Linked DNA regions of Homo sapiens: regions 1 and 2 are each linked to region 3. Evidence: promoter capture Hi-C in 16 types of primary human blood cells and fetal thymus (Javierre and others, 2016). All regions are on one chromosome and are shown on one strand. Each heading gives the region's core, a stretch centred on a gene start or on the middle of the fragment in contact. The rest is flanking DNA. Distances are from core to core; before and after follow the strand shown. Region 1 overlaps BCAS3 (BCAS3 microtubule associated cell migration factor). Region 2 overlaps BCAS3 (BCAS3 microtubule associated cell migration factor). Region 3 holds the start of TBX2 (T-box transcription factor 2).

Region 1 (4,341 bases), core at 996-3,495, 340 kb before region 3:
TTACTTTTTTTTTTTTCACATTTTATGTAGCAACAGGATTTTCTAATAGTTTGCAAATAATTCCTGATTATACAATAGTAGAAACAAAGCAGCCTGTGCTATTCTTTATGGAAAATGTATGTTTCATAAACATTTTTAAGCGATCTTTTTGAATTATTTCTTATTTCCAAGAATACCTAGAAATCCCTTCTTTCTTCAAATTAATGTATATATGATTTTAGTTTTTCCTATATGTTTTAATACTTTGTTTTAAATTATAGTCTTGTGTCTTTAGCATAGCTACTTTTTTTTTATATTGAAGCCTCTTTTAGCTGCTGATTATGAAGCTAACATATTTAATATTATTTTTGTTTCTGGAGTTCTGACTGTTCCATTTATCAAAAGTTTTAATTTTGCTTTGATAGTGTATAAGCTCTTATCATTACTGAGTTTCTCTTTCTTTGAAAAAATTTTTCTCTCTTGATTTTTCTTACTGAAAGTAACCAGCCCAGTAACCGAGGCATAAGGTTGGTGGGTGAGTGCCACAGATTGTCTCTCTGCAGCTTCAGTCTCTTCTTCCCCTTATTGTTGTCATAGGATAGGAGACTTTTGGCCATATGATTCTGTGGAACTTGGCAGGGGACCAGAAACACCATATTGCCTTCAGTGCCTTTATGCCATCAGTTTCTTGTCTTTTATACTACGCTTTCTTTGTATTTTATGACTTTGTGAAGAACATCTGTAACAACCCTATATGATGTGAAATCTGGTCAAAGCTGAGATTTGGGGATTTTTTGAGGATAGCGTTTTTTTCTTTTCTTGGTCACTCGGCTGATTTCTGTGCTCTTTTCTAGATGCTAGCATGTCATCCGTGGTTGCATCATGTACACCTTTAAATATGAAACCAACAAACCAGTATTTTCTACGATGAAAAATTTTAATCAGAGGTATTATAGTGTATGTAAAGTAGCACTTTGATTGTTTCTCTCACTGCATGTGAAGCTTCCTTCAATGTCTGTAACCTTGTGTTGTGACTTCTGGTTAAAGTAATTTTTCCCCATTGTTTGATCACAGTATAGGTATCTCTGATCAGGATACATAACTGTTTATTATGATTATAGAAAAGATTATATTAAGTGAAGCAGACATTGAATAGACAAACAACAGACTCTCAATCAATGATATAATTGACGTTTGGGGATAAAAATCTCTTACATGTTTTATATGATAAATTTAACTTAAAATAATGAACTTAGTAGGTAATGAAGTGATAAATTGAGGTGAGGTGATTTTGCTTAAGGTGAAGAATGTGATCTTTAGAGTCAGCAGTCCTGAATTTGAACTCTGTCTCTGCTACTTGCTATCTGTACAGCTTTAGGCAGATAACCTCCCCGAACTCTTTTTTCTCCCCATCTTTTTTTTTTTTTTTTTTTTTTTTTTTTTTTTTTTTTGAGACAGAGTCTCGTTCTGTTGCCCAGGCTGGAGTGCGGTGGCACAATCTCGGCTCGCTGCAAGCTCTGCCTCCTGGGTTCACACCATTCTCCTGCCTCAGCTTCCCGAGTAGCTGGGACTACAGGCGCCCGCCATCACGCCTGGCTAATTTTTTGTATTTTTAGTAGAGATGGGGTTTCACTGTGTTAGCCAGGATGGTCTTGATCTCCTGACCTCATGATCCGCCTGCCTTGGCCTCCCAAAGTTCTGGGATTACAGGCGTGAGCCACTGCACCTGGCCTCTCCCCGTCTTTAAAATGGGTATTAATAATACCTACCTTACAGGATCATTGTTAGATAATATGAGATAATTGATCCAAAAAGGCTTACCCAAGAGCTTGGATAGAAAAAAGAAACTCACTAATGATAGCTGGTGGTTGTACTTAGTTGTGTGAGAATGAATACCCTTCTTCCGTGAGGTCTTTCTTGCTTCTCATGATTCCACCTACTTTATGACAGATACTGCCAGGTGGCACAGGTGAACATACTTTGTTGTGAAGAGAAAGCGTTTGTATTATATCTCCTCTGATCTTCAGTGGTCAGCTGGACAAGTATGGCTCTAATATTGGGCACATTTTCAAAGCTATAGAAAGAAATTTTACTGGCTGGGCACGGTGGCTCACACCTGTAATCCCAGCACTTTGGGAGGCCAAGTTGGGCAGATCGCTTGAGTCCAGGAGTTCTAGACCAGCCTGGCCAACATGGTGAAACCCTGTCTCTACTAAAAACACAAAAATTAGCCGGGCGTGGTGGCGCGTGCCTGTAATCCCAGCCACTCGGGAAGGCTGAGGCAGGACAATCTCTTGAACCTAGGAAGGAAGGAAAAAATGAGTGGGAAAGAGAGAAAGTGAAAATGAAAGAAAGAAGGGAGTGAGGAAGGAAGAAAATGCAGGGGAAAAGAACTACCTCACTTTGTTATACAAGATGAAAATAAAATGGTATACAGTAATGAAAGTAAACCAGACCTAAATATATTTTTTTTATTATTTTTATTTTTATTTTTTGAGACAGAGTCTTGCTCTGTCGCCCAGGCTGGAGTGCAGTGGCGCAATCTTGGCTCACTGCAAGCTCCCCCTCCCAGGTTCACGCCATTCTCCTGCCTCAGCCTCCTGACTAGCTGGGACTACAGGCGCCCACCACCACACCCGGCTAATTTTTTTTTTTTTGTGTATTTTTAGTAGAGACGGGGTTTCACCGTGTTAGCCAGTATGGTCTCGATCTCCTGACCTCATGAGCCACCCCGCTTGGCCTCCCAGAGTGCTGGGATTACAGGCGCGAGCCACTGCGCCCGGCCACCAGACCTAAATGTATTAACATGGATGATACATATAGTGTTATGTGGGAAAAAAAACCTGTTCTAGAAAAGTATTACTATGATTTTTTAAATTATCACTCACTGAATGATCCTGAATACTTCATGTATTCCACACCCTAGCCAAGAAGAGTCAAGATGACTCTCTGTCAGTCTGCAGGTCAAGAAATGGTTGTTCAATCTTTTGAAACATTCATAAAATAGTTTTTAAAAAAATTATTGGAGAAACGTTAGACGTACATAGTACACAGTTAGTTGTATAAGGAATCTACCAATTACCAAGTTTCAACAATTTACAACATTCTACCACAAAGTATCCTAAGAAAGTCATTCACTATTGTGTCTTTTTACCCATGATTCTTCACTATACATCTGATTATAAAGACTTTTTAAAGATCACAACTCCCCACCATTACGTAAAACAGGTGAGGCAGGGACAGTGATTTGTGGAGATCTCTGTTTAGTAGTTTGACGTTGTGGAGTAGGCAAGGAAGATCAAGCCTGGAAAATGCTCTTCTTACTTTTGGAAAGTTAAAGAAAACCCTGCAGTAGTTGTGGGCTTGTGTTCTCTGTCTCATGCTTTCCCCTATCCTCTCGGTTTTGAGAATTTTCTGATTAATTTAGAGTTAAAATATGGAAAACATCATGAATGCTTAATGATCATTTAAGAAGATTTTAGATTATTTTCCTAACTATAGGGTGAAAATGTTTGGTGCCTTCCAGGTCTAAAAGCTTTTGTCTCTCCATGCCAGGGCAACTTTGCCTCTTTTGCTTAGGCAAGAGAAAATCTGTATGTAATTCTTCCTGCTGCATAATGATGTGGATTTTCCTAGTATGTAACTAGATAATAAATAAATGAAACATGAAAAAACCACATTAAGTCTTTGCAAAAAAAAATTATTTTTGCCATTTTTACATTTGCAAACATCACCCCCCATCCTCGCCTGCTTTTTTGTTGTTGTTTGTCAGGGCTTAGTGTAGATGCTAGACTGAATACTACATTAGAGCCTTTGCTATTCAACTGTGCCATTGTAGATGGAGTCAAGAACAGTAAGTTTTCAATCACTGTCCTATTGCCTACATGTACAGATGGGTACATCGATTACTGCACACAATTTAATGACCAAAAATAGTGATTATTTACCTTTACAACATCAATTTACAGTAGGTTCCATATATGCTCTACTCATCCTAGTATCTTATCAAGTATATTTTAGAGTGTTCCTTGAATTTATAATGGAGAATTGATTATTCCTGAAAGAAATGCATCTAACATTCAGGTTTGGCTGTGAGAATACCGTTGCTACTGTTGAAGCATTACAACTCATAATTCTACACAGAATTTAGCTTAGGATGCTTTCAGCAAATAATCATTCTTCTGAACAAAAAAACAACGTGTTTGAGCAGTTGATAAAGCTGGTCCTATGTTTGATATTTGTGTGTATAAATACAGAGATAATGATAAATAAACAGATACGGAGACATTATGCATAAGCAAGTTAGAAGTAGCACACCCCCTTTAAAAAGTTACTGAATCTAAAAATAGGGGGAAAAACACA
Region 2 (4,194 bases), core at 643-3,142, 360 kb before region 3:
GCTGGAATTACAGGCGTGAGCAACCGTGCTGGCCCAGTTTCTAGAATTTTATATAAATGGAATCATATAGTATGTAATTTCTTAAATCTCACTTTCATCTAGCAAAACAAACAATACTTCATTCCTTTTTTTTGTTTTGTTTTTGTTTTTGTTTTTTTTTTTTTTTTTTTGGAGACAGTCTCGCTCTGTTGCCCAGGCTGGAGGGCAGTGGCACGATCTCAGCTCACTGCAGCCTCCACCTCCCGTGTTCAAGCGGTTCTCCTGCCTCAGCCTCCTGAGTAGCTGGGACCACAGGCGCCTGCCATCCCATCTGGCTAATTTTTAGTAGAGATAGGGTTTCACCATGTTGTCAAGGTTGGTCTCATACTCTTGACCTCAGGTGATCCACTCGCCTTGGCCTCCCAAAGTGCTGGTTTTATAGGGATGAGCACCTGGCCTTTCATTACTTTTTCATTTGACATAATTTACATACAATAAAATTAACCCATTAAAAGTGACTTTTCACAAAGTTGTGCACTTATCACTGCAATCAGTTCTCATCACCCTAAAAAGAAACCTCATACTCATTAGCAGTCACTCCTTATTTTTCTCCAACCCTTCAGACCTAGGCAGCAGCCAGTTTACTTTCTTTCTCTATGGATTTTGCTACTCTGATCATTTCATGTAAGTGGAATCATATAATATGTGACCTTTTGTGTCTGGCTTCTTTCACTTAGCATATTTTCAAGATCTATCCATGTTGTAGCGTGTGTCAGAATTTCACTCCTTTTTATGGCTACATAATACTCCATTATATGGTTATACTGCATTTTGTTTATCCATTTATTAGTTGATGGATATTTCTACTTTTTAAGCTGTTATTAAATAATGTTGCTGTGAACATTCATGTACAGATTCTTGTGTGAACATTTTTTTTTTTTCCTGAGATGGAGTCTTGCTCTGTCACCTAGGCTGGAGTGCAGTGGCGTGATCTCGGCTCACTGCAAGCTCCACCTCCCAGGTTCACACCATTCTCCTACCTCAGCCTCCTGAGTAGCTGGGACTACAGGCACTAGCCACCACGCCAGCTAATTTTTTGTATTTTTACTAGAGACAGGGTTTCACTGTGTTAGTCAGGATGGTCTTGATCTCCTGACCTCATGATCCACCCACCTCGGCCTCCCAAAGTGCTGGGATTACAGGCGTGAGCCACCGCGCCGGCCCATGAACATATTTTTTTAATTGTCTTCTGTATGTACCTTGGAGAATACCTCTGTTTGAACTTATTTCCCCCTTGCACTTCTGTGTTAAATTTTCTTGGATTTATGCTTCCTCTATTTGCAATCTCATGCTCACCGAAAATAGAGAGTAACATTGAGATAGCCATTAAGGGGAATAGAAACTAATATAGATAGATTCAAAGGTTTCTCTGAAAGTAATTCTCCAAGATACAGTGGTTAAGCCTTATAGGAATGTTTATTAAGAATCAGAGTCCATCTCAAACGTGCATAATGATTAGAATCTTTATAAGCTATAACCAAAAGGAAAAAAAACCTGGAATAAAACCTCTTTAATATAGTTCATTGTCCAGGAAAGAAAAAATTGCTCCTGACATGTATGGAAGGAAACAGACAAAAATGGATATGAAAATGATCCCTGTCCTTTTGACATTTTAAAATATTCTTGTATTGATTTTTGGAGGCTCCAGCATTCTTTACTACTACTTTACTATGCTGGATTGATCTGATCAATATCTGATTTATCAAGCTTATTTAGGAGTGGGCAGATCTAATTAAAGTTACTACACTATCATTGTTGAAATAGTAACTTATTTCAGAACTCAGATGCTAATTTGATCTATAATAAGTCATCCATTTACACAGCTGTGTTTTATTAACCATTTTTACCTACTTCATTTTATTTTAAAATATACACATATTTTAAGAATAGAGAGGTCAGAAATTACATAAATTAGAACTAGTTAGTTGTAACATTTGAATTTTACACCTGTTTAATCTTCTGAATGTCTTGCCTATCCTGTTGGAGGGTCTTCTGCTGTTAAGCTTATATTGACTGCATGTTATTTGTATGAAAGACTGCCACCTTTTTATTTTTTCTAAGCAGATGGCCTTGTGTTTCAGGTTTCATCACATTCATTTTAATGATTACAAGTTCATTTTAATGATCACAAAAGTAGTGTGAGTTTAAGTCACTGTTCATAAGTGATGACAGTCATGGTGATTTACATCCCATCTATTAAGCTTAAATATTAATATTCTTCTCCTGTTTCCTTAGAACCCCTCAATGGAATGAATTGCAGCCACCGTTTAATGCAAACCACCCTCTGCTCCTCGCTGCAGATGCAGTACAGTATTATCAGTTCCTGCTTGCTGGCCGTAAGTAGTTCAGATTTTTTTTTTCCTTTCGTATGGTCTATTCAGATTTCATCTTAAAATGCTAGCTTTGAAAGCAAACATTACCACTGGTCCATAGGCCATGGGCCTTAAAGAATCAGTTTGAGGCAAATAAGATATTTAATATGAATATAAACTGTAAGCCTTAGTATACATTATGTCTCTGACTGCTTATATTCTTTACCTATGAAATATATTTCTGTAATAAAAGTTAAGTTGATAGGGAATATCTGGAGGGCTCAAAAATTCAAACAAACATAAAAACCACCACCTGAAAATGCTAGGATATAATAAAAAGTTTCATAAAGCTTGGAATCTGTTTCTAACATGGAAAAAAAAAAACCCCAAAACTTAGCACAGTTAAAAGTGCAACTATGAAAACAATGCCAGCAGGCTTTTCTTTTGGTAGAATTTTACTTGCAATAATGAGGTAAAGATTTCAACTACATTTGTTAATTTGTTTGTTTACTTATATGTTTAAGCGTGAGCATTTGTAGAGACTGAACCAAGTTCATTGACCTAGATAACAGCTTTTTATATGGGAGTCATTTAAAGGCAATTTAGTATTTATTATCCAGTTTGCGTTTATAGAATTAAAAATTATTTACAATTATAATTCAGTTTTGTAGATATAGACAGAATCCTTAATTTAATTTGATGGCTCTGAGTAGTGCACGCTTTAAAGAAAATTCTTAAAAATCAACATTGACATGTTTTTAATGAAACTTTGTTGTATTTAACACATTGTCTTGCCCGGTATATTAGAAAGCATGAATTAAAATAGTTGTCGAATGATTTTATTTTATCTTTATAATGTGCTATATATTATACTGGAAACAGAAATATTTTATAGACTTTGCTCTCAAGTTATGAAACTCTATAACTGTAATCAATAGTTGGCAGTCTTGCTCTCTCATATTATTGTTGAACTCTCTGCTTTTTCTAGGGCATTTTTATTGAGTGCCTACTATGTGTGAGGCAGTTCTGATTTAAAGGTGATTAGTATATTGCTTCTCTCCTCAATGAATTCCCTAATTCAGGAGATAGACATTTAATAAAAAAGTAAAATAAAGTGGGGTAGGTGTGTCAGTGGAGGGTTATAAATTGAACTGTGAGAGCAGTGACGTGTGTTGCCTATGGCATCACAGACGGGTGATATGTAAGTGGTTTTCGGGTTGATTCAAGAAGCAGTGCATATAGAAGTTGTTAGTTTCTAGATTTTTTAAGCATATATTTAACTATCATATGAACTGGAAAAATACATGACATGAATATGATATGAAATAAGAATCATGAGTACATTTTCCATTACCTCTCAAGGAGCAAAACTAATTGTTGAATTAAGCATAGTTGACTCTTTCAGAGTTAATATTGTGTTTTGTGTTGTTATTTTGATACCTATTAAGTCTATTTAATAGACATACTATAACAAGTCTGAAATATTTATAAAACACATAGGGGAAAAGATATAGCTATATCTATCTCTTAATTGTTTTTTGTTCCAGTGATTGACCTTATTGACATTACACTCTGCTTGATTTTAGCTGCCCTAAACACCTTTGTCTAATGCTCAGAACAACAAAAATCCCCAGGTGCATAATTTAAGAACCACCACTGTTGGCAGTAGTAAGCCATTACATGTTTTCAAGCATAGGAATGACACCATCAAAATTGTATTTTAGAAAGATCATTCTGGGCTGGGCGCAGTGGCTCACGTCTGTAATCCCAGCACTTTGAGAGGCTGAAGCGGGAGGATCACTTGAGGTCAGGAGTTTGAGACCAGCCTGGCCATCATGGTGAA
Region 3 (4,140 bases), core at 244-2,743:
GAGAGATCCGGCCTTCAAACGCTGCTCCCAACGTTCAACAACGAAGTGCCCTGCGACCGGTGTGCGCAGTGGGCGGGCGCCTGCATGGGTCAATGTTGGATGTACGCGCCCACCACGCGGTTGTACGGGTGGGAATGTCACCCGTGGCTAGTGCATGCTCTGTCTTTTCCTTCAGAAAACGACCTTCAGGAATCAGCCTGAGTGTTCGCGCCCGAGCCCGATTGGAAGCAGGTGCGTGGTCGCTTCACTCTCCCCGTGCACACCTTGAGTTATAGCTCTCGCTGCGCACAGAGGGCACCACACGGGGCCCGACACACACACACACACACACACACACACACACACACACACACACACCATCACTTCATGGGGGGGAAACTGAGGCTGCCGGAAGACAGAAAACGAAGACTGATCACAGAAGAGGGGGCTTCAATCACAGGTGCTCGCAGACACCCCAACTCCCTCACGCGTTACTCAGCACTCCTTAACTTAGGAGACGTGCGCTTCCGAGAGATGAGAAGAAACTAAAAAAGTGGTTGGCAGGGCGAAGAGAGGAAGCCGGTATTTCGGAAGAAGGAGACTTTCGTCTCCGGTACCGGATAGGGCGAAAATTCGTTGGGTCGCGGGTGGAGAATCCGGGGTCCGCCCGCGCGGTGCCGCCCTGTGCTCAGCGAAAGGTGCGCTCACCTTCCTGGCCCCGAGGATCCGCTCCTCCCGGCCGCTGGAAAGCTCAGGGCGGGGCCCGGGCCTGCGGAGAACTCCAGGTTCCTTCCGAGTCTTCCGGTGAAGGCGGGCGCGGGTAGGGGGTCCCCGCGTTTCCCCAGCGCAAGGCCGCGTCCCGCTCCCGCCCGCGCCGGCCCCAGCAGGGCTCGGCCATGGCTCCACTCACCAGCTCCCGCCACCTGGGATCCGCTCCCGGACCTCGGCCGCCCGAGCCTCCCGACTCGCCCGCCCACCGGCCTCGCTTTCCAGTGCCTGCTGTCTCTTTCCGGGGCGCAGGGACCCCCAGGCGGCGCCACGACCCGGAGCTGGGTCGGAGGCCAGGCTGGGGCTCGGGCCAGAGCGGCCGGGCCTCTGGGCGCGGGAGAAGGAGGGCGCCCCCTCTCCGCTCGGGGTCGTGTCAATGCTTTGCACTTGGGGCCGGCGTGCGGCTGCGGGTCCTTCCCCAAGGCCCCGGGACCCGGGCTCCCCTCGCCTCAGGCCCTTTCGGCGGGTCAGGTCGGCCCTCCGCGCTCTCCAGTCCGGCGCAGGCAGCCGCAGGCGCGGGCGGGCGGTGGGGGCCGGGGCAGGAGGAGGGGTCTCGGGGCCCGGCGGCCCGTCATTGGTTAATATTTTATTCTGTTGACATGTTTTCTTACTGCTGAGGCTTCCGACACCTTCTCCCAGGCCCCCCCTCCCGGCCGGAGCTTGGCCTGAGCTGTCAAAACCCCGCCCCCGGAGACCCACAATTGGTCCAAAAAGCGTAAAATCAGCAATCAAGGGGGGCCTGGCTCGTTAGCGCAGGGGATCCGAGCTGGGCAGGACATGTGAGATAGTCACAGTTTTCCAGAGATCACGACAAGATCTAACCAGTCGCGCGTGGTCCCCGGCGCCGGAGCGGGCCAGCTCAGCCCGGCCCAGCCCGGCCCCGCGCAGAGCCCCCGCCGCCCCCGCGCACAGAGCCGGGTGCCCCTTGCGGTGCGCCGGACGGGAAGCCCCGAGGAGCAGCTGCTGCGCCCGCCACCCGGGTCGTCCGTCCACCGCGCGCGCCGCCGCCCGGGCCGGGGGTCCGAGCCGCGCGCCCCCGGCCCCGGCCCCGGCCCCCGGGCGCCTGGGCCGGATGTCCCGATGAGAGAGCCGGCGCTGGCGGCCAGCGCCATGGCTTACCACCCGTTCCACGCGCCACGGCCCGCCGACTTCCCCATGTCCGCCTTTCTGGCGGCGGCGCAGCCCTCCTTCTTCCCGGCACTCGCGCTGCCGCCCGGCGCGCTGGCCAAGCCGCTGCCCGACCCGGGCCTGGCGGGGGCGGCGGCCGCGGCGGCGGCGGCGGCAGCAGCGGCCGAGGCGGGGCTGCACGTCTCGGCACTGGGCCCGCACCCGCCCGCCGCGCATCTGCGCTCCCTCAAGAGCCTGGAGCCCGAGGACGAGGTGGAGGACGACCCCAAGGTGACGCTGGAGGCCAAGGAGCTGTGGGACCAGTTCCACAAGCTAGGCACGGAGATGGTCATCACCAAGTCCGGGAGGTAGGGCTGCCGGCCGGCTGGAAGGCGCGCGGGCGGGCGGGCGGGCTGGGGCACGGGACTGCACGGATCAGAGCAGAGCTGGGGACTCCCGGCTCCCGGCTCCCGGCTCCAGGTTCTGGCCCTGACGCCACGCTTCGCTCCCACGGACAACCAAGTTGACTTTTCTCGTTTGGCACCGGAGCGATTTTTTTTTAAAACAAAAACGCTAAAATCCTCCGAATGAAATAAAACGAAAACATACTGCTAAAGAATAGCCCCAACCGTTCTGAGTCCCAGCGCAGAGGAGGCCCCGCGGCTTGGCCCTGGCGGTCTCCTCCGCCCCGCGCTCTCGCTCTTCTGCGTCCGGGTCCGTCTCCGAGCTCGGGGGAAATTCAGCCTCTCTCAGACTCTGCTCCGACCCCGAAGCCCCTAGTGGGACCTGGGCCCAGCTAACCCCACGCTGGTTGCTCGGTTCCTGGCAGCGAGCCCCGGGTCAGCCGAGCCCTCCGCCTCACCGGGCTGGGAGCCCTTTCTCCACCGCGGGCATCCGAGCCCTGGACGCATCCGCCGCCCCAGGCCTTAAAGCCTGAAGAAAGCCACAGCCCCGGCCCCTCCACCCTTCGACTCAGCCACCGAGAATCCAGGCCTCGGGTTCACCCTCTTCCCCCGAACTGCACGGCCAGGATGTCTTATCAGGCTCTGTAGCCCAGTTCCCAATACAAACACCCTCCAGATTTATTTCTGGGAGCTTCCGTCCCAAGTGGGTATTTCCCCTGAACGAATTTCGGGGAGATTAAGGAGAAGCGAGAATATTTCTAGAGGGCCTAGACTTCTCTCCTGGGCATCAGCTTTCATCTCAGATCAGGGAGAAAGAGGGTCCCCAGATCTGAGCACAAGGCCTAAAGGAGGCTGTTTAGGAGAGGGTCTGACAGGCAGAAATGGGATCTCCTGGGAGCAACAACCACAGGTGGGGTCGTCCGGGCAGTGATGAGAGGGCAGAGCAGCCGACCACAGGGGAAACAGCCAGGCGGCAGCGGTGTGCGCAACGAGGAGGGATAAATAAAGGAGGAGTGGGGTCCTGGAACCTAGAACAGCCGGTTCCAATGGGATCTCCTCCCTTCCCTCCCTCCCAGGCGGATGTTCCCCCCCTTCAAGGTGCGAGTCAGCGGCCTGGACAAGAAGGCCAAGTATATCCTGCTGATGGACATTGTAGCCGCTGACGATTGCCGCTATAAGTTCCACAACTCGCGCTGGATGGTGGCGGGCAAGGCCGACCCTGAGATGCCCAAACGCATGTACATCCACCCAGACAGCCCAGCCACGGGGGAGCAGTGGATGGCTAAGCCTGTGGCCTTCCACAAGCTGAAGCTGACCAACAACATCTCTGACAAGCACGGCTTCGTGAGTGTTGGGGCAGGGTGGGGACGGTGCAGGAGCTTGTTGACCCAGCACTGCAGCTGAGCAGGAGAGCAGGGCGGCAGGATCTCCCAGGGGGAAGCGCTGGGCAAACCCCCAGAGTGCCCCTGCCCGGGTCACTGCCCTGTGGTCTACGTGGGCTGGGCCTGGGCCTGGGCCCCAGCGCTCTCCTTTGCAAGCCTGGGAAATGGTGGGGTCAGTGGCTGGCAGCTCACAATCTCAGTTCCTCAGGCCGTGGAGGGTCCCTTGTACCGTCAATAGGGAGGCAGGTGCTGCCAGGACTGGGTCTGCAGTGCTGGACCACGGAGGTCACCCTGCTCTTGGCCTGTAGGTGCCGAGCTTGGAAGACCTGCCCATGACCTCAACTTGTCCATCACCCTTCTGCCAAGACCCGCGTCCCTGGCCCTCCCCCAAGACTAGGGGATTTAAAAGTTAAACCACCCTCCCCACCCACCCCCCCAGCCTCCCTAAGACCTTTCCCTCCTCCCACAGGCAGATGCCCAACTAGGAGGAGAGGGTTTGG

The links. Contacts are between HindIII fragments. The CHiCAGO score rates a contact against its expected background, and 5 or more counts as called.
Region 1: a contact is called between a fragment that was not itself captured here and the fragment with the promoter of TBX2 in region 3, in 2 of 17 cell types (M1 macrophages and naive CD4 T cells). The highest score is 6.4, in M1 macrophages.
Region 2: a fragment that was not itself captured here is called in contact with the fragment with the promoter of TBX2 in region 3 in 6 of 17 cell types (M1 macrophages, endothelial precursors, megakaryocytes and 3 more); the score reaches 7.7 in M1 macrophages.

What each region holds. Positions count from the first base shown.
Region 1 is chr17:61,057,671-61,062,011 of GRCh38, forward strand. All of the region lies in intron 19 of BCAS3 (BCAS3 microtubule associated cell migration factor), which reads left to right. The region is part of intron 4 of BCAS3-AS1 (BCAS3 antisense RNA 1); the gene reads right to left. Among named protein-coding and RNA genes, the nearest start is that of BCAS3-AS1, 76 kb to the right of the region's middle. The HindIII fragment of the contact is 2,533 bases long and covers 980-3,512 here.
Region 2 is chr17:61,038,518-61,042,711 of GRCh38, forward strand. BCAS3 (BCAS3 microtubule associated cell migration factor) reads left to right here. Exons shown (of 24, transcript NM_017679.5): 19 at 2,275-2,375. All of the region lies in intron 4 of BCAS3-AS1 (BCAS3 antisense RNA 1), which reads right to left. Among named protein-coding and RNA genes, the nearest start is that of BCAS3-AS1, 95 kb to the right of the region's middle. The HindIII fragment of the contact is 296 bases long and covers 1,745-2,040 here.
Region 3 is chr17:61,398,350-61,402,489 of GRCh38, forward strand. TBX2 (T-box transcription factor 2) reads left to right here and starts at 1,494. Exons shown (of 7, transcript NM_005994.4): 1 at 1,494-2,222; 2 at 3,335-3,602. The coding sequence starts at 1,828. TBX2-AS1 (TBX2 antisense RNA 1) reads right to left here and starts at 1,257. Exons shown (of 2, transcript NR_125751.1): 1 at 890-1,257. RefSeq lists promoters at 451-1,711, 1,331-1,578 and a cis regulatory region at 1,567-1,578. The HindIII fragment of the contact is 11,976 bases long and covers 1-4,140 here.